3 separate regions of the Homo sapiens genome follow, and all the other regions are linked to region 1. Evidence: promoter capture Hi-C in 16 types of primary human blood cells and fetal thymus (Javierre and others, 2016). All regions are on one chromosome and are shown on one strand. Each heading gives the region's core, a stretch centred on a gene start or on the middle of the fragment in contact. The rest is flanking DNA. Distances are from core to core; before and after follow the strand shown. Region 1 holds the start of PLD4 (phospholipase D family member 4). Region 2 overlaps PACS2 (phosphofurin acidic cluster sorting protein 2). Region 3 holds the start of BTBD6 (BTB domain containing 6).

Region 1 (5,078 bases), core at 1,903-4,402:
CCCCACTCCAGCTCATATGGTCGTGGCCCTCCCTGGTGACCTGCACCTTCCTGGAGGAGCTGGTAGAGGGCCCCCCTTATCTCACGGGCAGATCCAAGGGCAGAAACACAGGCAGCAGCCCCAAACTGAGACCTGCCCCCGCAGGCCTCCATGGGCTCACTTACTGGCAGGAGTCCCTCTGCTGCCTGGCCTCTGCTTCCAGGGGCTCCCAAGCTGGGCTGGAGCCATGCTCCCAGGACCTGGGCACGTCCTTGGGCTGCACCTGGCCCCAGGTGGGAGGACGGGGCACTTGCCACAGGAGGCAGATAAGAGCCACGGAGCCCAGCCACAGCACAGCCAGCGCTCCCAGGACCTGCAACTGGATGGGGCAGCACCCGCAGGGTCACCAGACAGGGCGGGGCTTGACTTCTGGCTGGGCCACGATGGCCCCTCCAGTGCTGAGACAGAGACCGTCTTGACTTCCCGGACCTGGGCTGCCACTGGGGTGGGACTAGGGTGGACAAGGGAGAGGGGAGGGTGATACAGAGAAGGCCCCCAGCCCAGGGTGGTGGCAGGGGTCAGGGGGCCTGCAGCCCACTCTGCAATGCTGTGGCTCGTGGTAACTGGCTGTCCCCAGCACCTCCAGCAGGGGCATAAAGGGAAGGTCTGGAGCAGCCCAGGGAGGCTTCCCTTGCCCACCAGTCAGGGCACCTCTGCTTGGAGGCCCCCTCAAGGCTGCTTGTGACCTCTCCACTCTGGCTCGGAGCTCTTGAAAGGCCATTGATCCCAGCCACCTCCCCCCTGGGGCCCCCCAGTCCTACCGTGCCAGCCTCTCTGTCCCACGGGCGGCGGGGCGGCATGGAGCATGGCCATGTGGGGGCCACTGCTGCTTTCCAAAGAGGCTTCAGCATCTGCACAGGGCAGCCTGGCATCACCAGCAGCTCCAGCTCTGCCCAGAACTGCCCCTCAGTGCCTGGGCAGCTGGGCACTGGGGACACCCCTGCACAGACACCCACATAAGCCCCCAAAAGCCCCCCACTCATGCCCGAGGTCACGCCCTGGATGTTGGGGGTGTGCTTTCCACGAGGACAAGCCGTGTGGGTGTTGGAGCCCGCAGCCGGCCACATGTCACCTGTCCTGTCCCCCTGGCCAAGCCGGAAGGACTGCTGTTAAGGCGGTCCCCAGGGCTGAGCCTGGGCCAAGCACGAGGGGCGGGCGGGCGTCTGTGCCTAGCCACATGCCCCGGCTTTCTGTGTCTCCCCTTTCAGGGTCTCCCACTCAGTGAGTATCTAGGTATTTGCATCTCAGTTCCCTGTTTCAACCACAACTGAAACTGCGTCTGAAAGGGCTGTTTCTGCTTTTGTCGCTTGGTCCTCTTATTGCTGGCCTATAAATAACTGCTTCCCTCCTGGGCTGGGCTCCTGTCTTGGCCCCACGGCAGCCCCTCCAGAGAGCCACAGGTCAGAGGGGGCAGCTGAGCAGTACCCTTGCTGGAGAGGCTAGGCGTGGAGAGGGCAGAGATGGCGGCAGAGTGGGACCCCTACTGCTGGCAGAGGGGGTTGTCCTCTGCTGCAGGGACTCGCCTTATCTCCTCAGAGTGGTCACCCCACAAGGAGCTGGGAGCCAGGCCATCTGGGCCCTGTGGGATGTGGGCTCCCATCCCCACTCCTACCCCCAAAGCAAGCAGTCAGGCTGCCCCAGGTGCCACCATGGGGGAAGGGTGCCTCACAAGTACAGAGGCGCCCTCCCCGGGTGCAGGGAGGGGTCTGTGCCCAGCATGGTCACCTGGCTGGCCAGCCTCTGACTGAGACATCCACCAGGGCAGGAGCTGGCTGGCCCCTGGCTGGGATGGGGATGTCTCCGAGGTTTGGGGCCTGGGCCTGGGCAGTGCTGAGTGCCAGTGTCTGCAGCCAGGCTGGGCGCTGGGACCCAGGGCTCGGTGGGTCGGCTGTCCACCCAGGAGCAGCCAGCTCAGCCTCCAGGCCTCTGGGGTTCGTCTGGGCTGTCCTCCCACGGGTCAGGGCTGAGGGCTTTGAGAACCTGGCCTGCCTCAGCATGGGGCGGAAATGCCAGGAACACCACAGGAGTCGGGCCTGGACTGAGTCTGCCCTGGAGACCAAGCGTTATGGGGGATTGGGGGTAGGAGCATAAACCAAGTGTGGGGACAGGGGACTCAGGCCAAGTCACTGCGGCCCAACTCCCCCCACGCTGGGGGGTCCTGCAGAGGTGGGTGGGTGCCGCCCCCACCCCAGAGCTGAACTCTGGGGGATGCTCCCCCCACCCCACAGAGGAGACCTCAGGGTGCCCACCGTGTCCCCACTGTCCCCAGGGATTCAGGGCCCAGCATCGGGCCTTTGCTCTCCCCCACTAACTCTCAGAAGAGGAAACATGGAATCCTGGGCTGTGGCTGGTCAATGAGAGGAAACATGGAATCCTGGGCTGTGGCTGGGCAACGAGGTGCCAGGGCTGTTCTTGGACAGCTGCTCCCCACACTCCCTGCCCTCACCAGAGAGGACCTTTGCTCCCTTAAATGCTCCAGGCAGACGGGCAGCTCAGAGCACAGAGGCGCTGCCTCTTGCAGGCCCCATCTCAGACTTGGAGCCTGTCCAAGTCCCCTCCCAGGACTACAGACCCCAGAGCGCCTCACCACCTCCTCCTGCAATGGAACCTGGGAGGACCGCCAGCCAGGTTGGCTCAAGCTGAGAGACCCCTGCAGAGTAGGGCTGTAGCCCCCTGGTCCCATGGTAGATAGCGTAAGACCCTGCAGACATCAGAGGTCATGGCTGAAGGTGCCAGATTTCCTGCCCTGCAGGGCATTAGGCATGGCTGCCAGTCCCAGGCTGAGGTAGAGGGCCCAGCTGTCACCTGGCTGGAGAGCCAGGGCCCAGCTTATCCCAGCTGCACGGACTGGGGACGGAGCGAGTCATCTACAGGACTAGCTGGAGGCTGTGTGACTCTCTGGACCTGGGGTTGCTGGGAGGCTGAGGCCATAGGGAGGCAGACAGCAGCCCTTTCCCCATGCCTGGCTTTTCTCAGCTGCCCTGGCCTCATTGGCACATACCTCTGGGGGTCCTGCCTTGGTGTCTATCCTGATTCCAGCCGCAGACTGCAGGCCCTCAGCTCACGGGGCAGGCTCGGTGCTGCCTGTGCTCCACACCAACCTCCTCTTCTCTGCAGCTCACCTCCTCCTCTCTGCAGCTGGCTCCTTCCCCTTCCAGCTACTTCCTCTTTGTCCTGAGAGGCCCCCTCTCATCTGAGACAGAAACAGACGGCTGGAGCTGGGTGGGCGGGCTAGAGGGTAGGGCTGAGAACCTTCACCTCCAGGAAAAATCTACACCCCACTCCCTCGAGGTAGAGGCCCTCCAGTTGCGGGCCTACGAATCGGAGTCAAGTTCAGCTGCAGGCCACAGACACCTAAGGAACAGTGGCTTCAGCAAGGTTGTTCATTACTCTCGAACACTAAGCAGGTCCAGGGGCTGGCAGGCTAGAGACGGCCTTGCTAGAGATGATGGCATTGCTCCACTGCCATTGGGAGCCAGGCTCTCAGATCCCAGTCCCTAGGATCCCTGCCTTCATGGCCTCACAGTGGCTGCTGGAACTCAGCCATTGCCTCTGTGTTCTTAGCAGAGAATAAGGGACATCCCAGAGGAGACTTCCTGGAAGTCCCACAGGGCACTTCCACTTATCTGTGATCTGGAACTTGATCTAGAACTTAGTCACATGGCTACACTTAGCTGCAAGGGAGGCTGAGCAATGGAGGTAACTAGGGTCTTTATCTTGGAGAACGAAGCTGGGGCTGCTCACTGGCATATCTGAAAAGGTGGGCCTGGCTAGAAGCTCCTAGCAAGGGGCTCTGCCTCCCACTGCCCCACCCCCCGACTGGGGTCCCTGAGTAAGGTCTGGGACCTTGAGAACACTCCTACTTTCAATGAGGTCTGGGTGTCCACCCTGGCTCCTCCTTGTAAGGCCTATGTAGGGCAGGGGTCCAGGGTGATGGCCTCAGGGTGCCTGCAGGACACCAGTCAGGAGGGTGCAGTTCCCAAGGGTGGGGCCTGTCAGCTGCACCCCTGGGGCCAGTCTGGGTGGGCCAGGAAGTGAATGGGGAAGAGATCCATCCTCTCCCTAGCCCCTCCCAGATCTCTCTTCACCTTCCTGATGCTCTGATTTGGCCTTGGGTTCAGCCCTTACCTCCCGGCCATGGTTGGGGAGCCCCAGCCCTCTGGCTGGGTTGCTGGATGCCTGAATGCAGCTGGGCCCCAGGCATGCCCCCGAGGGTTGGGTCCTCCAGGGACTCTGGGTGAGGGTTACTCTGGGTATGGGGAGGGGCAGCCAGGTGGGTCCTGCTGTGACATTTGCAGGGCTGGGGCATGAGTATGAAGGGAGGCTGCCTTCCCTGCACTCAAGCAAAAGGCAGTTAGACAGAACAGGTTCTCTTCTGTCTTTTTTTTTTTCTTTTTCCTTTGAGAGAAGTCTCGCTCTTGTACCCCAGGTTTGAGTGCAACGGCTTTATCTCGGCTCACTGCAACTTCTGCCTCCCGAGTTCATACGATTCTCCTGCCTCTGTCTCCCAAGTAGCTGGGATTAAGGCACGTGCCACCACGCCCGGCTAATTTTTGTATTTTTTATTAGAGACGGGGTTTCACCATGTTGGCCAGGCTGGTCTCGAACTCCTGAACTCAGATGATCCACCCGCCTCGGCCTCCCAAAGTGCTGGGATTACAGGCGTGAACCACAGCGCCCAGTCTCTTCTGTCTGGACAACAATGGTGTGTGAGGGCCTGGAAGGCCAGGGGCAAGTGGAGGACCCCAGGGCTCCTTGGAGCACTCTCAGAAGTCCTTGCAGGAGGGCCAGCCCCAGCCAGTCCCCTCTCCGATTTCCCCACATTGTGAGGGGCCTCAATGAGCCCACATGCTACACCCAGCCCGTGGGTCTGAGCTCATTGCAGCCCCAGAAAAGCACCACGTCACCTCCCCTGGCTGCCCCTCAGGCCAGCAGGACTGGGTACAGCTCAGGCAGCTCTACCTCGGGAGGATGGATCCAGGCTTGGGGATGTTTAAGCAAGGAATCCTGGGCCTTGGGCTCAGGGTTCGGTGGACTGT
Region 2 (5,078 bases), core at 1,800-4,299, 430 kb before region 1:
GCCGCCCGCCCCTCACAGGTCCCCTTGGGCTGGACCTGGCCCCAGTGGCATGTGCAGCTTGTGGCGAGGCCACAAGAGGAGTCCGGCTGTGCAAAGAAGCATGGCTGCTCCCTCAGCCACCACCGCACTCCCAGGTCACCCCTTCGCCTGGTCATGGGTCTGTCAACCTTCCTGTCTTGTCGGGGAGCCCACAGGCCCCAGCCTCAGACAATGGCCACCAGCTGGCATGCCTGCGTCTCCCAGGCTGCAGCCCCAGGGTGGTCTGGCCACACGAACGCCCACCCCTACACACTCCCTCTACGGGTGCTGGGGTGAGTTCTGAGAGCCACACCACAGGAGAAGGCCCCACGTCTGCCCCCACCGCACACCTGCCTCTGCGGAGCTGCCTCTGAGAGGGACCACCTGCAGTCAGCTCAAGCTTCCTGAGAAGTGGCAGGCAGAGGCGCGTGCCCAGCAGGCCCTGGGGCTGCGGTCACTCCTGATGGTCCCAGCCAGAACTGCTGGTCAGCCTGCAGACCTAAGCCACCCCACGCCGGCGTCCAGCTCCTGGCACCCATGAGGCCCGGCCCCTACCCTGGGCCACCTTGGACTCCACTTCCTCAGCCTCAGAGTAAGTCCAGGGCTCTGGGCCTCAGCTCACACAGAATGAGTGCCAGGTGAGGGCAGAGCTATGGTGTGGCAGGGGCCCAGGCTGCTCCCAGCCCCTCCTGCCCCCTGCGTGTGCACCCATTTGAAGGGAGATGACACCTGTGTCCCCACAGCCATCGCCTCCTGGTCTCCCCACAGCCTGGAGGTCCTGGGCAGGTGCCCCCCACATCCTCTCCCACCACACTCTCAGCCCTGGCCTCGAGTCCGCCCAACAGCCCGCCTCACCCCACCCTGTGCCCTCAAGGACCCTTCCCCACCGCCGAGCACTACTCTCAAATGCATGGCGCCAGCCTCACCGACACCCCACTCTCACGACAGTCCCTATGGCAGCACCCATGCCCTCACCCCCGTCTCAGGCGTGCAGTCTCGGAGCCAGCAAGCCCCCATGGCACAGCTGCCTGAGCCCAGCTGGTGAGAGCCCCCCACCTCTGCCACCTGTGTCCGTCTGTGCCCTCGGGGCTGTCCCGCCTCCGCAATCTCCCGTGCTCATACTCTCAACAAGCCAGCAACGCTCACAGGTGGGAACCAGCCCCAAAAGGTGGCAGGACACAGGGAGCCCATGAACCGCCCTGGTGCTCGGGGACACATGGGAGGACCCAACTAGGTTCTGGGACCAGGCTGCCAGTGGAAGGTGGAAGGATGCCCCGAGGGCCTGGAGGAGATGCTGGAGGGGAGAGCGAGGAGCAGTCAGATGACCTCGGCTTTGGAAGCCACAGGTGCAGGGCGAGGGAGCCTTGGGGTGGGGGCCACAGGCTCAGGGGCAGGGCACTGGAACTACATCCAGGGGTGGGGCTTTTCTGCCAAGAGTGAAGAACAGATGATGGGATTTCAAGCAGCAGACGATGTGGCTGGTGTGACCTGGGGTGGGGGAAGGTTGCTCCAGCCTCTCCCCGGGGATCAGGAGGGGACAGCCCAAGGCTGGGAGGACAGGTGAGGGAGGGGCCTGGGAGCAGAGGCCAGCATTCAGGGCAAGGACGTCAAACACAGAAGCACCAGTGCTGAGAGGGGCTGGGAGGAGCCGCCTGGGGCACTGGGGTGCAGACTGAGAGATGTGGGCGGAGCAGCCTGGGGCAGGAGCTCACAGGGACCGGCAGGGATCAGCAGGACATCACCTGCATGGCTACACAGGGACCAGCAGGGATCAGCAGGACATCGCCTGCATGGCTAATGGGAAACACAGGGACCGGCAGGGATCAGCAGGACATCGCCTGCATGGCTAATGGGAAACACAGGGACCAGCAGGGATCAGCAGGACATCGCCTGAATGGCTAATGGGAAACACAGGGACCGGCAGGGATCAGCAGGACATCGCCTGCATGGCTAATGGGAAACACAGGGACCGGCAGGGATCAGCAGGACCTCGCCTGCATGGCTAATGGGAAACACAGGGACCGGCAGGGATCAGCAGGACCTCGCCTGCATGGCTAATGGGAAACACAGGGACCGGCAGGGATCAGCAGGACCTCGCCTGCATGGCTAATGGGAAACAGAGCCTGCATGACCTCCCCACAGTGCCTGGACCCTCCTGCTCCACAGGAAGCAAGCGGTGGCTCCCAGGAGGCTCTCACAGCCCAGAGAGCATCCCTGAGCTACCTGTTCACCCATCGCTCAGCCTGCAGGAGGGAGGCTGGGATGATGGGCAGCTCCAGGCCACCAGAGGGGTCCCAGGGCCCTGGGAAGTGCAGCCTGGAGGCCCGGTCCACCCGTGCTGTCCGTGGTTTGCCGAAGGAATCGGGAAGACTGCAAAGCTTGTCTGAGGCCCTGCGGCGGCACGGAGAAGCGAGGCCTCGGGACGCCACTGCTGCTTCCTGTACCCTCCACGCTCCCATCTCCTGGGGTAGCAGGGAGGGCTGAGCCCAGAGTAGTACTTGGCACTTGTCCTGGATGCGTAAGTGGGGGTGTGTGAGGATCTGGGGGACCTAGCGCTTGACCTGGGAGACAGGAGGCCTGCAGGCTGGGCCTGGGGGTGTGGGGGAACCAGCTACAAGTGGGCACCCCCACTGTCCCAGCCCCAAGCCCCAGGAGCAGGGGGACAAAGTGGGAAGAAGAGGGGCTGGGGGGCTCTGGCATCTCCGGCTCCCAATGAGGGGCTGCGCTGGCTGACCTTCCCAGGCCCCAGGCAGGCAGCAACCCAGCTTCACATGCCCCAAGCACCACTCACGCCCGCAGCCCCTGGACCCCTGAACACAACCCCACGATGGGGAAAGTTCTGAAGCAAAAGAGACAAACTGGTCTGGGGCCCTGGGCTGCCCCTTCTCCCAGAGCCAATCTTGCAGCCCCGAAAGGGTCCATGAGAAAGTCCGAGGCCTCAGCCTGGGGTGTCTTCTCCCAGGCCCCCACGCCCTACTGCAGCCTCCTTGGAACGCTGGGTTCTCTGGAGCAAGGTGGGCTGCTGCTTGGCTGTTTCTTTTCCTTTTGAGGTACTTCCCCTTCTTTCCCCTCCAGGGAACTCCAGCCACCCCTCTGACCTCTGGGTGCTGCCCCCGCCCTGCTCGGGTATTGTCGCTAGCCCCTTCACAGAACTGACACCTGTCCTGCTCCTGCTCAGCCAATCCTGGGCCAGAGCACGTGCTGAGCAGGATGCAGACACGAACCCATCACAGGACGCACCCGTGGTGTGGGGACAGCAGCGATTCCTCCATGGGAAGGACTCCAGAGCAGCCTGACCCAAAACCCAGCCTCCACTGAAGGGCAGGACAGGCTCGTTAGAGGGGAGTGCGCGCGGCTGCAGGCATGCGGGGAGCCATGCTAGGCGGCAAGGGAAGGTCAGAGAGGAAGCACCACCTGGGGCCGCACCTGGCCCTTATGGCGGAGCCCGGCCGCCCAGGCTCCTCTCATCATTTTCACCTGATCCCTGGACATCTGGACCCGGGAGAGACATCTCCATCTCCCACGGGCGAATGCTCTGGCACCCAGGTGGCCAGCCCGACGCAGGCCACGCCAGACGGAGCACTCACCTCAGCCATGCTGATGGAGCCCGCGGCCAGCGTCTTGTAGCCCAGGATGGTTCTGTTCTTGTAGCGCTTTCTGCGCTGCAGCATGATCTGAAGCTTGTTGCCTTCCCTCTTCAAGAAGTGAGGATACTGTGGGCACAAGTGCGAGTGGCAGCTGAGGGTGCACCGGGGCCCCAGGCAGCATCACGGCCTCTGACGGCCCAGCCACCCTGCAGCCTGCGACCAGGCCAACCTGCTGCCCATGAGATCGGAAGGGCACCCACAGACGGGCCCCCAAGTTCATCCCAGTGGCATGCCGGTCCCCAGAGCCCATCCTTTACCCAACACAATCAAGAGTGAGCCAGTCGCCAGAGCTCAGGCCCTGAGGGCTCCGCGCCACGCTAACAGCCATGGCAGGTGGACAAGGACTATGTGCTGCAGTGTCCGGGATGGCCGAGCGCGCCTGTGGACACTCGGAAACAGTGTGGCGGCTCATGTGCCTGAGGCAATCAGCAAGGTGGGACCCAGGACGCTTTTCCGCGAGGGGCACACAGGGCGGGGAGGGCTCTCCCTCCGAGGCCCCCTGTTCACCCAACTCGCCTGCACGTCTCACCACAGGCTCCCTGTCCAGCAGGGCTCCAGCAAGCTGATGTTCACAGGTATCTCTTAGACACTCAGAGTTCACAAATAAAAATCAGTTTAAATACTTAGGGGAAAATGGGGCTGTTCACCACCCTAACTGCGGTGGTGCTGACATGCCTGAGCATGCCTATCAAAACCCACTGAACCATGGAGCATTGGGCCAGGCGCGGTGGCTCACACCTGTAATCCCGGCACTTTGGGAGGCCAAGCTGGGCGGATCACCTGAGGTAGGGAGTTCGAGACCACCCTAGCCAACATGGCAAAACCCCATCTCTACAAAAATACAAAAATTAGCCGGGCTCACTGTCACCTCCACCTCCTGGGTTCAAGCAATCCTCCTGCCTCAGCCTCCCGAAGAGCTGGGATTGCTTGTGAACTCTGAGTTTCCCCTATCTTTTTAAATAGAAGAGCAAAATAGCCTTGACTCAGTAAGTGTTTTTTTGCCCTCGTTATTATATTCTCTCTTTTTTTTGAGATGGAGTCTCACTCTGTCCCCCAGGCTGGAGTGCTATGGCATGATCTCAGCTCACTGCAACCAACCTCCACCTCCCGGGTTCAAGCGATTCTCCTGCCACCTACCTCGGCCTCCCGAAGTGCTGGGATTACAGGCATGAGCCACCACACCCGGCCTTATATTCTCTTTATCATAGATAAGGAATGAAAAACTAGGCTGGGCATGGTGTCCCACGCCTGTAATCCCAGCACTTTGAGAGGCCGAGGCAGGCAGATCATGCAGTCAGGAGTTCGAGACCAGCCTGGCCGACATGGTGAAACCCCGTCTCAACTAAAGATACGAAAAATAGCCGGGCGTGGTGGCACATGCCTGTAATCCCAGCTGCTCGGGAGGCTGAAGCA
Region 3 (5,078 bases), core at 1,430-3,929, 320 kb before region 1:
CCACATAGCATGTTCAGCATGACAGGTTTTCTCCTCGGGATGGGAGGGAGCTGTTCTGTTGCATGAGAAAGAGAATACCCCACTGTACAACTGCTGTAGTCATTTACTGACACGTGGGTGTTATTTTAGGCAACCTTTATTACAGAAGTCCACTATTTTAAGTGACTTTTTGCCAATTTTAGATTTGAAGGGAAGGTCTCAAGTTAAGCTTGGAACCACTTAGAATCCAAGAGGGTAGCAGGAAGATCCAACCCCTCAAAGCAGGTGGCATGGGTGCCACTGGGAGGGGATCTGGGGCCTGTCTTGAGCCGTAAATCTTCCTCCACCTGAGACGTGCACCCCACTGTACCAGAGATGCCTAAGACTCCAATCCCTGGGTTCTGGCTGTGTGGAAAATGTCTCTACACAGTCAAGCTTCAGCTGACTACATGTCAAAGAGAGACAAAGTTAAGAGCAGCCTTTCATGGTGTCAAGAAGCAGTTAGCATCTTGACTTCCCCTCCACTCACTCGCTGACCTGCTGCAGCCTCCCCGGGCACCTCAGGCATAGAAAATGAGCTCAGGGATCTGCCCACCCTGGACCCCAGTCCCGTTGGTGCTGTCCGAGGAGCACTGGAACTGGAAGGCCACCTTTCCACACTGCACTTCCGTCATCCCCTCCTGCCCAAAGTAGCTGAGTTCGCTGCCGTCCAGGACGGCACTGGCCGTGTAGAAGGTGTCTTGTTCAACCTGGACCGGGTGTTCAAACCAGACCGGGAAGGTGTTACTGGATCCGTCTGACATGAACTTGGTCAAGTTCTGAGCCAGAACCACCCCGAGCCGCTTGAGCTCAATCTTCACGCTGTACTCAGCCTTCCCAGAGCTGGAGCCATACAGGCCCAGCCCTGCAATAAATACCCTTCTGTCCACTGCAAACTGGATGCTGTCGCAGCGCCCGCGGTACCGCCACTGGTTGCTGCGGTAGGCAGAAGACTGGAATCGGTGGCACCTCTGCGGGGCGAGGCCCTTCCTCTTGGTCAGGGGAAAGTCCAGGCGGGGCTTGTTGGTGGCCGTGTACCACAGGAAGATGCTGTGGGTCTCCTCCAGAGTCAGGATGTCTGACTGGGCAGCGCCGTTGGCAAACTCCTCTAGGGTCATGGTTGGAATTCGGACCAGATAGAGGGCTCGCCCCAGAACATGCCTCTTGTTTCGTGGGGTGATTGGCAGCCCCTGCCTCTTGCACTCCGCCTCGGCCCAGTTCAGGACGGCCTCGAAGACCACCGCCTCTTTGGTGTTGAGGGCCTCCCGAGTGACAATGATCTCCAGCGTCTGCCGGTCTATCTCACAGAAGCCTTCGGACCGTAGGGCCATCTCGGCCTGTGCGTCAATGACCTCCCAGCAGCGCTGCGTCAGCTCGGGCTCCTCAAACAGCCGGCTCTGGGACAGCAGGACGCAGGCGTTCTTGGCTTCCAAACTTGTCTCCAGAAAGTTGACACAGGCTTTTGCCAATGCTGGGACGATGTACTTCTTAGCAGCGTACAGAGTGGCCAGCACCGTGTCGGCTTCCAGATCGATCTCATCACTGTACATGTACCTAGGCGAGGCAGGGCCCGCGTCAGGGGCTGGCTCCCAAGCACCCATCGCGGGGCTGGGCCTGGGAGAGGAGTCCATCAGCTCCTGTGTGCTTCCCTTCAGAAGCCTCCGGAGGCCGCCTAAAACGGACCCACCCGTCCCTCCCCAGTAGAGTGGACTTACTTTAAGAGGATCAGAAAGGCTGCGGGCTCCACGTCTGGAATGTGAATTTCAGATTTGACTTCCGCCAGGTCTCCGTAGAACATGGCATAGAAGACGGAGCTGCCGACAGCCAAGACGTACTGGGAGGAGAAAGCGCCGCCGTGAGCCTGGCTCTCCCGCAGGCTGCGTGTCAGCCACACGGCGGACGGGGCGGACGGGGCACGCGTTCCGAGAGGGGCCGCCGCTACCCACCTTGTGGGCGGGCACCGTCCTGGTCGCCCCCGGGGGCCCCACGACGAAGTGCACGTCGGCCATGAGCTCGTTGTTGAACATGAGCGCGTTCCTGCAAAGGTAGAGGCACGGGCTGGGGGCGTGGGCGCGCGCGGGCGCGGGGGCCGCGGGGCACGGGCTCACCTCTCGCGCAGCGTGGGGCGGCAGCACCGCCAGCCGGGGCTCTCCTGGTGGTTGTTGCCGAGTGTGGGCGGCGCGGGCGCGGGCGGCGGCGGCGCTGGCGCGGGGGCGCTGGGCGGGCTGCGCGGCCCGGCCTTCCTGCCCACGGCGGCGCCGGCGTTGCTGTTGGCTAGGTCCGCGGCCGCGGCGCTGGCGGGAGCGTAGAGTTCCGCCGCCATCTTCGCGGGCGGGGCGGCGGGGGCAGCCTCGGCGCCTGTGGACGCCGCGCCCCGCGCCCTCGCGCCGCGCCGGGGCCTCGGGAGCGGCTCTGCAAGCAAAAGCAAGGAGGTCAGGCACTGAGCGACGCGGCCGTGCAGGCAGGCTAGGGGCAGCAGCATGGGCGGCGGCGGCGCTGTGACCCGCGGGGCTGCCACCCGCTCCCCTGCCACCCCCGCCCCTGCGACCCTGCCCGAGCCCAGCCTAGCGCAGCCCGGCCAGGCCCGGCCGCGGGGGGCGCCGTCCCGCCCGCCCGCCCGCCCGAGCCCGTACCCGCCGCGGCGCCGGTGCGTCACGCTGCGTCAGGGCCGCGCCCCGCGCGACGTCGCTGCCTCGCGGCCCCGCCCCCAGGCCCGACATCCTCGAAGCTGCTCGAGCTTCTGCCCAGCAACCGGCGCGAGCCGCGCGCTGTGCAGAGGTAGCCGTGGAAGGCGGCTCCCGGCGCTGGCAGGCGGCCGCCCCCAGACCCGCAGTGCCATGCGCAGGTGCTTGCGCCCGTTCTTCAGTTAGCGATCTTTTGGTTAGGAACGCAGGTGGACCTGCTTGTTTGGCCATTTGCATTCCGGAGTCTGCCTCTGGCCGCGGCCTGTGGGATGGTCGTTGGGCTTCCTCGTTCGTTCAGATGCTTCGCGATTTAGCTTGCTACGGACGCCAGCAGCCAGCGCTTGCAGAGAGCGCGGTCCACTCTGCTCTGAGGGCTTTACAGGGGCAGGCGCTGCTATTTCCCGGCATTTTCCTCGAGGAAATAGGCACAGAGAGGTTAGTCGCGCGCTGAAGGTCACACAGCCGGCGGGTGGGCAAGTCAGGATCTGGCCCTGGGCCTGCAGCCCTGGAGCTTGGGCCCCAGGGCGCGCCCTGCCTCTGTGGCTCTGCCTGTGGATCGCAGTCGCAGGCTCGCTCCTTGTGGGGCCTCTAGCCTCCCGGCCTGGGGCTAATCCTGGGAGGTGCGTGGCATGGGGCACTGGCTTTGCTGATGAGGAGACCAGACTTCAGAGGCCGTGTCACCTGGCCTGGGCCGCACAGCTGGTGCATGCCAAGCTCGCGTGCAGACGAAGCTCCAGAGGCCTGGCTGTCAGGAGGGTTCCTCCCCGAGGACACACACGCAACCTCCTGGACCGCCAGGCTTTAGACTTTTAAAACTTCCATATGCAGGAAACCCCACAGGACGCAGCCAGCATCTCGGGTCATGGGTGCACCTGTCACCGCAGTCCTGGGCTAAACAGTGAACAGGAGCTCTGTGTCTCTGTGGTCGTTACAGTTGTAGTGAATGTTCCCTGGGAGAGTCCTCTTCAGAAGATATTTGCGGTATTTTCAACAAAGGACTCTCCAGGATGGAGGAGCAACTACAAGTCAGGAAGGAAAAGGCTGACAACCCAGTTTTTTAAAAAACGGGCAAAGGACGTGAACAGACACCATGCAATGGCCCAGAGTGCACAAATCATCATTTCTCCCAGGAATGGGGTGCCCGAGCCCCCAGGCGGCTGAACTTGAGACTTGTCACGTAGTGTTGGTGGAATGCAGAGCAGCTGGAGATCACCTGCTGCAGGTGGGTGCGTAACTCCGCACGGCCAAGCCGTTTGGAAAGCTGTAGCATATGCATGAGAGTCCGGAAAGTTCCGAGAGAAAGTGTGTGGATGCACCCGCCAAGGACACACCCACCGAGGCCACAGCTGCGATTTCATAGTGTGGGACCCCACTGGCAAAGACACGCTGGCTGCTGTGGCCGTGGTTTCTGTCCCAGCCGTCTGTTTCCATAGAAAAAGGTAACGGGCATAAGCAGTTTCCAGGAGAAATACAAATGGCCAGAGTGGAGACAGCCTACATGTCCATCAGCAACAGAAAGGATCAGCAGGTTGTGGTGGGTCCATTTGGGGAATGCAGTGAGAAGGAATAACTTACAGCAGCACACAAGACCTGGGCGACAGCTGTCTCCGGGGGTGCCAGGATAGAATTGCTGAGCCGCCAGAGGTAGTCAGCGTCTTGATCTGCATGGTGGTGTGGAGCATGTGAATAATAATTTTCATCCTTAGAAAGAAACCACCCTTTGCACTTTGATTTTTAAATATGTTACAGTGTAGGTTGGGCGCGGTGGCTCACGCCTGTAATCCCAGCACTTTGGGAGGCCAAGGTGGGCGGATCACTTGAGGTCAGGAGTTTGAGACCAGCCTGGCCAACATGGTGAAACCCCATCTCTACTAAAAATACAAAAATTAACGGGCACCTGTAATCCCAGCTATTCGGGAGGCCAAGGAAGGAGAATGGCTCGAACCAGGGAGGCGGAGGTTGCAGTGAGCTGAGATCATGCTACTGCACTCCAGCCTGGATGACAGAGCGAGACTCCGTTGACCAGGCTGGTCTTAAACTCCTGGCCTCAAGTGATCTACCTGCCTAGGCCTCCCAAAGTGCTGGGATTACAGGTGTGAGCCACCGCGCCCAGCCTATTCTTTTTTGTTTGTGATAATGGTCATCCTAATGGACATGAGGTAGTGTCATGTGGTTTTGATTTGCATGTCCCTGATAAATAATGATGTTGACCATCTACTCATGTGCTTGTTGGCTATTTGCATGGCGTGTTTGGAGAAACGTCTGTTCAAGGGCTTTGCCTTTTTTTTTTGAGACAGAGTCTTACTCCGTTGCCCAGGCTGGAGTGCGGTGGTGAGGGTGCACTGCAACATCCGCCTTCCAGGTTCAAGCGATTCT

The links. Contacts are between HindIII fragments. The CHiCAGO score rates a contact against its expected background, and 5 or more counts as called.
Region 2: a contact is called between a fragment that was not itself captured here and the fragment with the promoter of PLD4 in region 1, in 1 of 17 cell types (total CD4 T cells). The highest score is 5.9, in total CD4 T cells.
Region 3: a contact is called between the fragment with the promoter of BTBD6 here and the fragment with the promoter of PLD4 in region 1, in 9 of 17 cell types (M1 macrophages, erythroblasts, monocytes and 6 more). The highest score is 7.4, in M1 macrophages.

What each region holds. Positions count from the first base shown.
Region 1 is chr14:104,922,953-104,928,030 of GRCh38, reverse strand. It overlaps PLD4 (phospholipase D family member 4), which reads right to left and starts at 3,152. Exons shown (of 11, transcript NM_138790.5): 1 at 3,041-3,152; 2 at 801-890; 3 at 165-358. The coding sequence starts at 890. RefSeq lists enhancers at 2,318-2,827, 2,810-2,979. The HindIII fragment of the contact is 16,221 bases long and covers 1-5,078 here.
Region 2 is chr14:105,353,705-105,358,782 of GRCh38, reverse strand. PACS2 (phosphofurin acidic cluster sorting protein 2) reads right to left here. Exons shown (of 25, transcript NM_001100913.3): 4 at 3,606-3,731. Among named protein-coding and RNA genes, the nearest start is that of PACS2, 41 kb to the right of the region's middle. The HindIII fragment of the contact is 1,302 bases long and covers 2,399-3,700 here.
Region 3 is chr14:105,246,134-105,251,211 of GRCh38, reverse strand. BTBD6 (BTB domain containing 6) reads right to left here and starts at 2,679. Exons shown (of 4, transcript NM_001387567.1): 1 at 2,127-2,679; 2 at 1,965-2,055; 3 at 1,734-1,852; 4 at 119-1,572. The coding sequence starts at 2,500. The coding sequence ends at 540. The region is part of intron 5 of BRF1 (BRF1 general transcription factor IIIB subunit); the gene reads left to right. RefSeq lists enhancers at 682-1,471, 2,263-3,053 and silencers at 2,078-2,127, 2,328-2,887. The HindIII fragment of the contact is 26,340 bases long and covers 417-5,078 here.